3 separate regions of the Homo sapiens genome follow, and regions 1 and 2 are each linked to region 3. Evidence: promoter capture Hi-C in 16 types of primary human blood cells and fetal thymus (Javierre and others, 2016). All regions are on one chromosome and are shown on one strand. Each heading gives the region's core, a stretch centred on a gene start or on the middle of the fragment in contact. The rest is flanking DNA. Distances are from core to core; before and after follow the strand shown.

Region 1 (3,439 bases), core at 22-2,521, 330 kb after region 3:
TTTTCAGTTTGATTCAATTCCATCCAATCACACATCATTATTGAAGCTTCTAGAGTTTAAAATATTTTCCATAATTACCTGAAAAGTAAAGCAGATGACTGTTTCAAGTACTCTCAGTTCAAGGCAGAATCTTTAAAGTTACTTTAAAGAGGTTTTGGTCAGTTATAAAATTAGAAACATAAATAGTACCTCAAAGACTAGTTATTAATCCAGTATATAGTCAATGTATGATTAGTGAATAATTTTGGTGATAATCTTTAAATGAGTGGTGATAATCTTAACCAAATATGTTTCATTATCATGTATATTTATTAATTAGTTATAATTAATAAATTATAGGTCTGAACTGGTCACTGGGTTATCACTTTCCTGCACTTCCTTAAAGCCCTCTGAGAGCAGGACTTTTTCTCATTCACCTTCATGTTCCCCCAGGAAATCACTCTGTACACAATGGATCATAAAAGTAGATACCCAATGAAGTCTTATAAAAACAAGTAAAATTATATCACAATTTTGTATTTGAAGATTAAAATAATGCCATATAAAACTACAGTTGACCCTTGAGCAACATGGGGTTGGGGTGCCCACTCCTCACACAGTCAAAAATATGCATATAACTTTTGACTCCCCCAGAACTTAACTACTAACAGCCTACTGTTATACTTACTTTATTCAGTAAAAATAGATTTACTATTCATGAAGTGGAAGTGGATCATCATAAAGGTCTTCATCCTCATCACCTTCATGTTGAGCAGGCTGAGGAGGAAGAGGAAGTGGAGGGATTGGCCTTGATGTTTCAAGAGGGCAGAGATGGAAATAAATCTGAGTATAAGTGGACCTGTGCAATTCAAACTTGTGTTCTTCCAGGGTCAACTGTATGTTTAAAGGTACATTTGGCACCACAGCAATGACTATAATACTGTCTATAATCTCTACTCACCCAAGCCATGAACTGTGTTGTAGTCTATGTCTGTCCCATACACATATGCACCAAAATGAGCACATGCTATCAGCAGGCCACCTGAAAAATCACACAATTTTGACCTGTTAACCAGTAAGTCCCAAACTCCTGTTTGTTCCTATTTAACTTCATCCAGTCTTAGAAACTAGCTGCAGGCAGAGTATCCTGGAATGACATTGGTCGTAACATATTTAGTAAGCCTCAGGACTGAAAAAACAAACCCCTAAGCTATAGTCACTAAACTGGTAACAAAGTAGAGAAATTAATGTATACCCTGGCATCATTATTTTAAACAGCACTATTTTATCTTTTTTTTGGTCAAAATAATGTATATTTAGACATTTTCATCTTATTTTTAGAGCTCTACACAAAAACATTTTGCTCCTTTCTTAAAAATGAGCATATAAGGCTGTTTATACAAAGAGCTGGCAATAAACAGAATAAATTCTGATGACTAGGCTCAATTCCCACTGAAGTCAGAGTTTCAAACAAATAGGGCATAATTACTATGTGAGACATTAGTTCTTACAGAAATTAAAAGGTTAGGACATATTTTAATTTTTGTAAGAATTAACTATTTTAATATAGTTACTCCTGTAACCAATCAAGTAATTATCTCCTGTTTTAAACTGTAAATACAAATTTCTGAGTAACTATTATCAAACATGCACAAAATAATTAATAAACTGTTTTTATTAGTGCTGTGACCAAAGTAAGAACAACTGTCCCAATACAATCTGACCAGACAAAGTAATGTGACAGATGTGACCAGCTCATGCATGAAGAGAAATCTTAATAAAGGTTAAAATAATAATGAAACTCTTTAAAATGAAAGGTAATACTATTTTTAAATTAAGAAAAAATTGTACACAATTAACTGAACTTTTAATAATTGTACTTTTAATTAAATTCACTTTTTTTAATCATTCAAATTAAAATGCTTTTAGTGCTTGGGCAAGTCTTAATTAGCTATACTCTAGGAAGGCCTGCTAGTCAAGCTGAAATCATAAATATATTCTTCAACTACAAAATATGCACAGACTTGGACAAGGGGAAAAAATACTGGGGCTCTTTCCCTTATAACCTTTTGAGATGTAATCTCTGTAACTAAGATGGGTAGTGCCTCTGGAGGGTCAAGATCCATAAATTAATGATGTTCCTTCCATAGCCATTTAAAACATAGTCTGGTAGCATGGAATTAAAAATACTTTGTTCATGAAAATATTATAACTGACTAGTTCTTTTTAGAACCCATGAAGAAGAGAAATGAAAGACTAAAAGTACAGCAGAAACCAAAACCTATGTCCTCTCATACTAACTACAAAAAGCATTTATGTGAGAGGGAAGGTTAAAAAGTCCTCATAATTCTGACTCTGGAAATGGAACATTCCATATTTAGAAAAAGCAGCATAAGTGATGACTTGGAATACTCACAAAGTCACTTCACCCAAATTACAAGGAATTACTACAATTCTGCCAATTAAGGCAGATACTCACCTAGAAGAACTAGTTGTCAAGGGGAACAGAAAAGCTTTCCTGTGCTTCCTTAACAGAACCTTATCCATTTGGTTAGAGTGAGTTTTGAGAAGACCCAATTTACAAGTACACTGCTGAAAGGAGATGAATAATCTGTTAGACTGCACCTGATACTTAACTTCGTGCCCTTTAAGCTTTTATTTTTTTTTAAATAAAATCATAATAAATTAGCTTATCTGAACTGGTCACTGGGTAATCATTGGTAGTCATCTAGTTGTTCTTTTGATTAAATTGAAGCACTTTTTACATTTAGCTATACCTCAGTTGGAGTTTTTTAGGGGATCTTTTTGGTGGAAGAAGGGGTGCTAAAAAAAAAAGGAGAGTGAAGTGTCAAGGAGGCAAGTAACATGACTCACCCATTTCTTTTTGCGTTACCAAAAGTAAAAATACTGCATATGTGATCTATGCTAGCAACTCGGTGTTTCAATTTCTCATTACTTAAATAGTAAGCACTTTAAGGTTAGGGTAGTATCTTACAGGCAAAATAATACAATAAGAATTGAATTTATTCCATGATGTAAAAACTAATTCATGATTTTCATCTTTAAAGAACTAACTGGAAAGCTTTGCAAACGTGGAGAAATGAGAGACTGGGCTTTGGTTTTGCTGAGAGAAAAAAAAGAAAGAAAAATGGCAATATTATTGCATCTATTTTATCTTTTTTAAAAAAAGAATTCTACTTAAATAAATTAAATTAGCAGGCCGAGCAAAAGAATACTGCTAGACAATGGGACTCCTACTAGACGAACCATGGGATTCCAGGAAAAGGGGACTACAAAGGGTAGTGGGAAAAAAATGCGAAAGAGAATATTATATAAACTACAGAGATCCATTATCTCACTCTCCTAACCTTCTCTTTTTCTCCCCATTTTCTCTTCCCAGAACCAGGACAGTCAGTTCCTTAACACCTGGTTTCTGCGTCCACTATTTTACAATGATAAA
Region 2 (3,775 bases), core at 765-3,264, 350 kb after region 3:
TTAAAATGAAAATCAGACACATGATTTGAAGATGTTTGGAAAAGAAAAAAATAATCAGCCAGGGCATACCACTATGTATTCATTAAGCACAAATAACTATCTCATCTTCTTTCTGTGTAAAGTTACAGAACTAGAAACAGAACTAACATAATAGATACTTTAAAAGCATCATTCATGCAAAGTTGAAATCTGTCCAGAGAGTGTTTATATTCTTTGAAGCAATCACTTTGTACTGATAAACCCAAATAATTATACAAATTTTATAATTTGTATGACTAACAAGTTATCTCCTTAAATCACATAAAACAGGTAGAATCACACTCTTCCATATAGGTCTCATGGAGGATGGAACCTAATGAGAGGTAAGTGTTCCACTGCTGGCTACCTACTATCCCCTTTCCTCCCAACCAGAAGGAAGAGCCTTTAACACCAAGCCCACCGCCATCAAAAGGGAAACTATACCCAGACCAGGAAGTCCCCCACTCCAAGACCAAGAAGAATGAGAAGTTCAAGCTACTAGTGCCATTTCTATTTTGTCTATGCAACAAATCATTTTTTAAAATTCAGTGTTAGAAGGGGCTGAATTCAGTCCAATCAGATGGATCGACCAAGAACTATCACAGACTACTGATAAATCAGTGAAGGCAGCCCAAAGGTTATTTTGCAGCAAGGAAAACACAAATCTGAATAGGAGACATCATGAGACTTAGAAATTAAATAGACCATAATCTGATTTTCAGCTCTTCCAAATACTAGCGATGTGGCTTTATACAAGAATCTTAAATCCTCCAACTTTTAGTTCCCTCAAATGTGAAACAGGAATCATAGCTACCTCATCAGGTTAGGTGAACTATAAAGAGAGAAGCATAGAACCTAGGTGGTTATTAAGGGAATCAAAATGATGAGGACCCTGATAACTGTCCTAGAAGTCCAGTGGCTCAAGAAGTCAACCAAGACTGATAGAGTTATAGCACTTAAAAGAAAAAAAATAAAGTTATAGATTAAATTACTTCATCTTGCATGATTGTTGTTTGTTCTATATTAAAGCATATTGTAAAGTCAGTTTTACATTTAAAACATCCAACTATAACCAAGTTAAAACACCAAAGTTTGCTGCTCCTGGAATATACTGTTAAAAAGCTGCAACAAGCTAAAACACAAAGATCCTAAGAGTTAGGTGGGGAAAAAAAGTGAAAGATTAAAGTTTTATGGCATAGCATTATCTCTACTACCCAAAGCTTAAGCAGCCACCTAAAACTGAGAATAAATATGATAACCCAAGTTTCAAATTGAAAAGCAAAACATGTTTAAACCACTTCATCAATCTACTTGGAAAAAGCAAAACACAAAATGTTCATTAATCTTATGGCAAATTCAACTTTCCAGTTGAGACTCTTTCTATATTAGGAATAAAAAATAATTTATATTGAACATTGGATATAAAAATGTAGCATGATCTGGGGCATGTGTGATGCGTTAATTCCATGAGCTTTTCTATTATTTCAGCTACTTGCTTTTTCATCCATTTAAAAGGTTGCTTCAGGACAAGCAATAAAACCCAGGAGTTTGAACTTTAGTAAACACTATTTAGTACAATAAGTACTACATTAAGTAGCTGCCAACTATACTTAGCCCTGATTAACTCTATCAGAGGTAAAACTGGACCACACTTATATTCCTGATCTCTCATTTTAATTCATAAAGGCAGCCATTCATTATAGCTTCCTTGCTTATCAGTTCTAATGCAGTAGCTGGGCCCAAAAGGATAGACTGTCCTTTGCATTGCCTTTCCCAGAAGAGATTCTATATCACTGATTTTAATATTTTAAGCAGCCAGGTATGGCGGCTCCACCTGCAATCCCAGCACTTTGGGAGGCCGAGGCAAAGAGATAACTTGAGACCGGGAGTCTGAGACCAACCCTGGCAACACAGTGAGAGCTCCCAAGACCCCCTCCCGCCCCCTCACACCAACACTCAGCCTCTGATTAACACCCGGCTCCACAAAAATAAAAATAAAAAAATTAGCCAGACATAGTGGTGCACCTGTAGTCCCAGCTACTCAGGAAGCTAAGGTGGGAGGATGGCTTAACTTGGGTCTTTGAGGCTGCAGTGAGCCACGGTCACGCCACTGCACTGTAGCCTGGAAAACAGAGAGAGAACAGTCTCCAAAAAAAATTTTTTTTTTTTTTTTGAGATGGAGTCTCACACTGTCACCCGGGCTGGAGTGCGATGGTGTGATCTCGGCTCACTGCAACCTCCACCTCCCAGGTTCATGCGATTCTCCTGCCTCAGCCTCTTGGGTAGCTGAGATTACAGGCGCACACCACCACATCTGGCTAATTTTTTGTATTTTTAGTAGAGATGGGGTTTCACTATGTTGGCCAGACTGGTCTCGAACTCCTGACCTTGTGATCCGCCCGCCTCAGCCTCCCAAAGTACTGGAATTACAGGAGTGAGCCACTGCGCCCGGACCCCCAAAAAAATTTTTAAGCAACTAATATGTGCAAGTCCCTGATCTATGTAAAAATACACACACATTTATCTTAGGGAAATTATGGTCTAGTAGAACCAACAAAACCACCTCACAACTGAAATGTAAAGTGTAAAAAACAGTACATGTTCTTAAACAGGTAAAAGCAAAAAAGTATTAGAGTACAAGAGAGTAAAAGATTACTTCAGTTTGAGAAGTAAAGTTTCATGGAAACTGCCTCAATCCCTGAAAAAAATCTAACCCAATGACAGGAATTCAACTTCCAGGTATGGCAAAAGAGGTAATTCAGATTAAGCTTCTTGCTGAAAAGAACTAGAAAAGCTGGCCATCTAATTGAAGGCATAGAAAGATAACAAAAATTACCAAACCAACATCCAGGAGAGGACAAAAATTCCAAGGTGGAGCCACTTTTTCCCTGAGACATTTACAAATCCAAAAACAGCTGCAAGAGTGAACAGCCCTTCTGAGTGCCCGATAGAAAGGGAAAAAAAGAGAAAGGGCCCCCCAGAGGAGAAAAGGATACTTGATGAACCACCTAATTTACACTAGGATGTCAAAAAGCTACACTCTGTGAGTACCTGGGAATCAGAACACAAACAGGGCTTAACACCTGAAAATGAGTTAAACCCAACCTAGATTCCTCATGCTCCTATGCGTTCCTATCTTCTTGAAGAGGATGTACATCATCCCAGCCCTCAAATTATTTTTTCAAATAAATTTTCAAATACAACATCTGGCATATATTTTAAAAATAGCCCACTATATGAAACAGAACAAAAAGAAACAATAGAAACAGACCCACAGGATCCCTTTTATCATATACTTTAACATAACTACGCTTTCTACATTGAAGGGGATTCAAGAAAAAAATAAGAATTTTGGCAGAGGAGGAAAAACTACAGAAAGGGAACTGTGGATCTGAAAAATAATCATGTAAAACATATAAAGCTAAAAGAAATAAACATGTGATTAACTCTAAATGAATACTTCCTATGTAAAAATCAATAAAGAATGGGAAAGACCCAAACCAGACTAAAGGGAGCACAGAGAGCAAAGGTGAAAGCAGGAATTCAGGGAATAATGAGTCAGTTTTGGCAGCACTAAGGACTAGGTGGGAAGTGAAAGCACAAAGGAAAGAACCATGCAGTGATGGACTTTGAATGCCCGACTAAAGATTTTCATCTTAAGAAAAATGAGGGTGTAAAACAGAACAGAGTTTTTGGAAGAATAAACTGGCACAAGTGTAATACACTAAGAAGAATTTACGACGGAAAAAACAAGTAA
Region 3 (3,514 bases), core at 349-2,848:
TAAAAATGTTTTGCAAGTGAATTTCATTTGAATTCCGTTCATTTGTGCCACCTCTATCACCAGCATGGGATAGTTAATTGGGGTCGGGGCACAAGACAGCCTGTATTGCCTCTTCTTACAAGATTTAAGAAAGTAACAAAAATAAGGGCAGAAGATAGAAGTAATACTTTTCTGGGGGAAAATGTGTTTTTGTTGTGTTTTGGCTTCAGAGACCAAATAAGGGGAAAGGGGCGATAATTCTATAGTAGTTTAGAAAAGGAAGCAACAGATGGGGTGGCAGTGGAGAAGTCCAGGAAGCAAAAGAGTAAAGAGGAGGTAGAAAAACCAATGTCGTTTAAGAACAGCTAGGATGATTCATGCAGTATGCTCTTATTATCCACAATTCTGTACCTTGATCTCCTGGAAATTATGTGTCCATTTATAATGGCTCCTTTACTCAAAGAGCCAAGGACAAGCTACCGAACATGCCTCCAGTGGTTTAAACCTAGAGAAATAGTGTTCATTGTGCCAGAGGAATATGTGTTCCAGGTATTCAACACACAAACTGAATTTATTTCAAGACAGAAACATTATTATACAGTGGTTTGATTGGGGCTTCTTATTAGGAGAACATTATGCTTCAGGTATTATGGGTCAGATAAGCAGGCTTTAGTAGTCTAGCTTAAAAACTGACTAGGTGTTCTATTACTTGTCTAGCGAAATGAATTAACAGTTGAGAGGACTCTTCCTACAAATAAACTTTCCCATCAGGGTCCTTTAGTAAGCACCCTCACCTAGAGGAAATAAGGCAATGTTTGGTTAAATGCGTAAATAGAGGAGAGACGGAGGGAGCCAAGGGAGGAAAGAGGAGACAGGGAGGGAGGCAAGAAGGGAGGCCCTTAAAAGGCATGTGAGCAATGCCTTTTACAATAGCTAAATAAAAATGACCCAGACTGAATTCCAAAATCTATTTTTTAAAGGGTGATTCTTTCATACCCTTTGCAAGTACATTAATCACGGTGCCAGATTGTGTTCCTAAACAGCAATATTTAAAACTGTAAGCAGTAACTGTACGTTAAGCTCATGTGACTAACAGTCTCCCTTTAAAAAGATCCAGATATTTACTTTTCGGCGCGGCCCGGTACAACTGAGCGCCAGGAATATGAACTGACATGCCAGGGTGGGGCATACGTTCCCTGTCATTGTTGGAACTGCCTTAAACAGGGGCCTGAAAGAGCTATAAATTGGCTCGGGGCGGAAAAACAAAGGCTTAAGGTTATTGCCCTTACCTCTCCCGTGCCCCATTCCCAGCCCGAGAAGGGATGGAATCTCACCAATAAGTCACCACTTTTCTCCAGACGAAGTTGAGGCTTCTTTCGCTTGAAGACTCGCTTTAGAAAGCCACGGGGAGCCTTCCGCTTTATCTGCTTCCTCTGGGAGACTATGGTCGACAGCGCCATCCTCTCTGTCAAGTACCAGCTGCCTCAGCTTCCGAGGTGCTCTCTGTATCGCACACAAGCTCCGGGGACACTGGGCCAGCGAAAACAATCCGGTCCGTATGACGCTTCTTCAGGCAGAAAAACCTCAGTCCGAACGTTCGAATCCGCCGCCAACGGAACGCGCCCGGCGCTCAGTAGTGACGTTAACCCTGAGCAAGCCCCGCCCCCGGAGACGCCTGCCTGTAGGTGGAAAACGCCCACGGTGGGCGGGTCCCGGGAATACCTGACGTCATTGAGAGCCTGCGTCCTCCTTTCATCACTTTCTGTATTATAACTTTTGCTCTGTGGAAGTGTTTCTGCTAGGTTCCCTAGAGATGATTGGAAGTTGTGGAGAGAGAGATTGGTAAGCCAAGGCAGTTCTTCAAGCACTCACTCTATACTGTCCCTAATACCAACGAACAGAAGTTTGTGATGTTTTATCAGGATTCCGACAGCACTAATGCCATGCCTTCCTAGCAAGGAATGCATGATTTTCAGATACTAACAGTTAAGAATTTTACACTTCTACGTAATTTCATTTGATCTTATCTTAGGTCTTTTCATGATTCTAGCTTTTCTTTACAAATGCTGCTCCCTTTAATTTTAAGGTTCCTCTCACTTAACCTTGCAATAACTTTCAGGTATAGTTTCATGCTAACTCACTGAACTTTTTGTTATTTCTTCAAGCTGTTAATTTCTCTATTATCTGTGCTATTATAGAAGTATTAATAGTTATCAAACCTTAATGTGCATCAAAATCACCTGGGGGACTTGTTAAACTACTGTTCGCAGGGCCCAGCTCCCAGTTTCTCATTCACTAGATCTAGGAGATACTCAAAATTTGCAATTCTAACAAGTCAGGGACATTGGCATTTGCTAGTCTGCAGACCAATCTTTGAGATCCGCTGTGATTTTAATTATAATTATCTCTAATACTATCTCTATTGAGATTTCAATATTATGTTATTGTGATCTCACGCACACAAGTGATCCTTCTACTATCTGGCCTCCCATTTCTGAGACCTCCTCTCTGCCAGTCATCTTCTACACCCTTGAGTTATTCATGCATGTGGTCATACCCTAGGCGGTGTCATTACTAAATACCTTTACCTTCGGTTTGATCTGCCACTTTCAATTTAGTTGTCTCTCTTCAACCGTATCTTCTATCTTTTGAATTTACTCCCTCCAACAATTCTTCGATGCTACTGGGACTACTGTCCTATCTTTTTCAGTTCCTCTCACCACACCCCCCAGCTCTGCCACCCCACTCTATGCCTTATCTTCCCTCCTGTAGTCCATTATGCATCGATCATCATAATACTGCCCTGTATTTCTCCACAACTTTATAGCCATTCTCTTTTATCCTCACACTAACCTGGCAATATTCCAACTCTGCTTAAGTTAAAATCTCAATCTATTCAACACTTGTATCTGTGTATTAATATTGGCATAAGAAAACAACACTCACAGGTATATGTCTGATCTCAATTCAAATTCATGACCACTCATGTGGGCTCTAAGTACTGCTACAATCCTTTGATATTTCCTAAAGCCATTCATTCATTTACTCATTCTCTTACATAGCTATGTCATGCCTTCTATTTCTTACCTACCCCATTCTCAATCTCCAGTGATGACATTGCTTCAACAACAAAATAAAATTTAAAAAAATCCATGGAGACTTTCTGTATGCTTTCACCACCCCATCTATCCATCAGTCTCCACCTGCTCCCATGGATGAGATGCCAACTACTCCACTTGTGCCCGAGATCAAGCCCTTTCCCCTTTCTTAAGGACATTTCTGTAGCAATTCTCCTTGCTCCTCTGCTTCATGAATTTTCCTTCTTTGCCAATTTTTTTCCATCAGCACCCACACAGCTTATAATATCTCCAGGCTTTTGAAAACCCTCTCTTAATCCTACCTTTTGCTGTTGTCCTTCTACAGAACAAAACAAAACTAGAAACCGTTGGCTAAATTCAGTGTCTCCAAATACTCTTCGCTTATTCTCTGTTAAATCCAGTACAATCAGACTTTTCTAGCTATCTCTTCACCAAAA

The links. The method cuts DNA at HindIII sites, captures the fragments that hold promoters and counts their contacts. A CHiCAGO score of 5 or more calls a contact.
Region 1: a contact is called between a fragment that was not itself captured here and the fragment with the promoter of CENPW in region 3, in 1 of 17 cell types (erythroblasts). The highest score is 6.1, in erythroblasts.
Region 2: a fragment that was not itself captured here is called in contact with the fragment with the promoter of CENPW in region 3 in 1 of 17 cell types (erythroblasts); the score reaches 7.8 in erythroblasts.

Annotation. Positions count from the first base shown.
Region 1 is chr6:126,005,974-126,009,412 of GRCh38, reverse strand. It overlaps TRMT11 (tRNA methyltransferase 11), which reads right to left. Exons shown (of 13, transcript NM_001031712.3): 8 at 941-1,021. Among named protein-coding and RNA genes, the nearest start is that of TRMT11, 21 kb to the right of the region's middle. The HindIII fragment of the contact is 2,446 bases long and covers 49-2,494 here.
Region 2 is chr6:125,989,662-125,993,436 of GRCh38, reverse strand. The region is part of intron 1 of TRMT11 (tRNA methyltransferase 11); the gene reads right to left. Among named protein-coding and RNA genes, the nearest start is that of TRMT11, 5.0 kb to the right of the region's middle. The HindIII fragment of the contact is 1,548 bases long and covers 1,241-2,788 here.
Region 3 is chr6:126,338,199-126,341,712 of GRCh38, reverse strand. CENPW (centromere protein W) reads right to left here and starts at 1,598. Exons shown (of 3, transcript NM_001012507.4): 1 at 1,314-1,598. The coding sequence starts at 1,439. RefSeq lists enhancers at 1,379-1,428, 1,439-1,708. The HindIII fragment of the contact is 14,002 bases long and covers 1-3,514 here.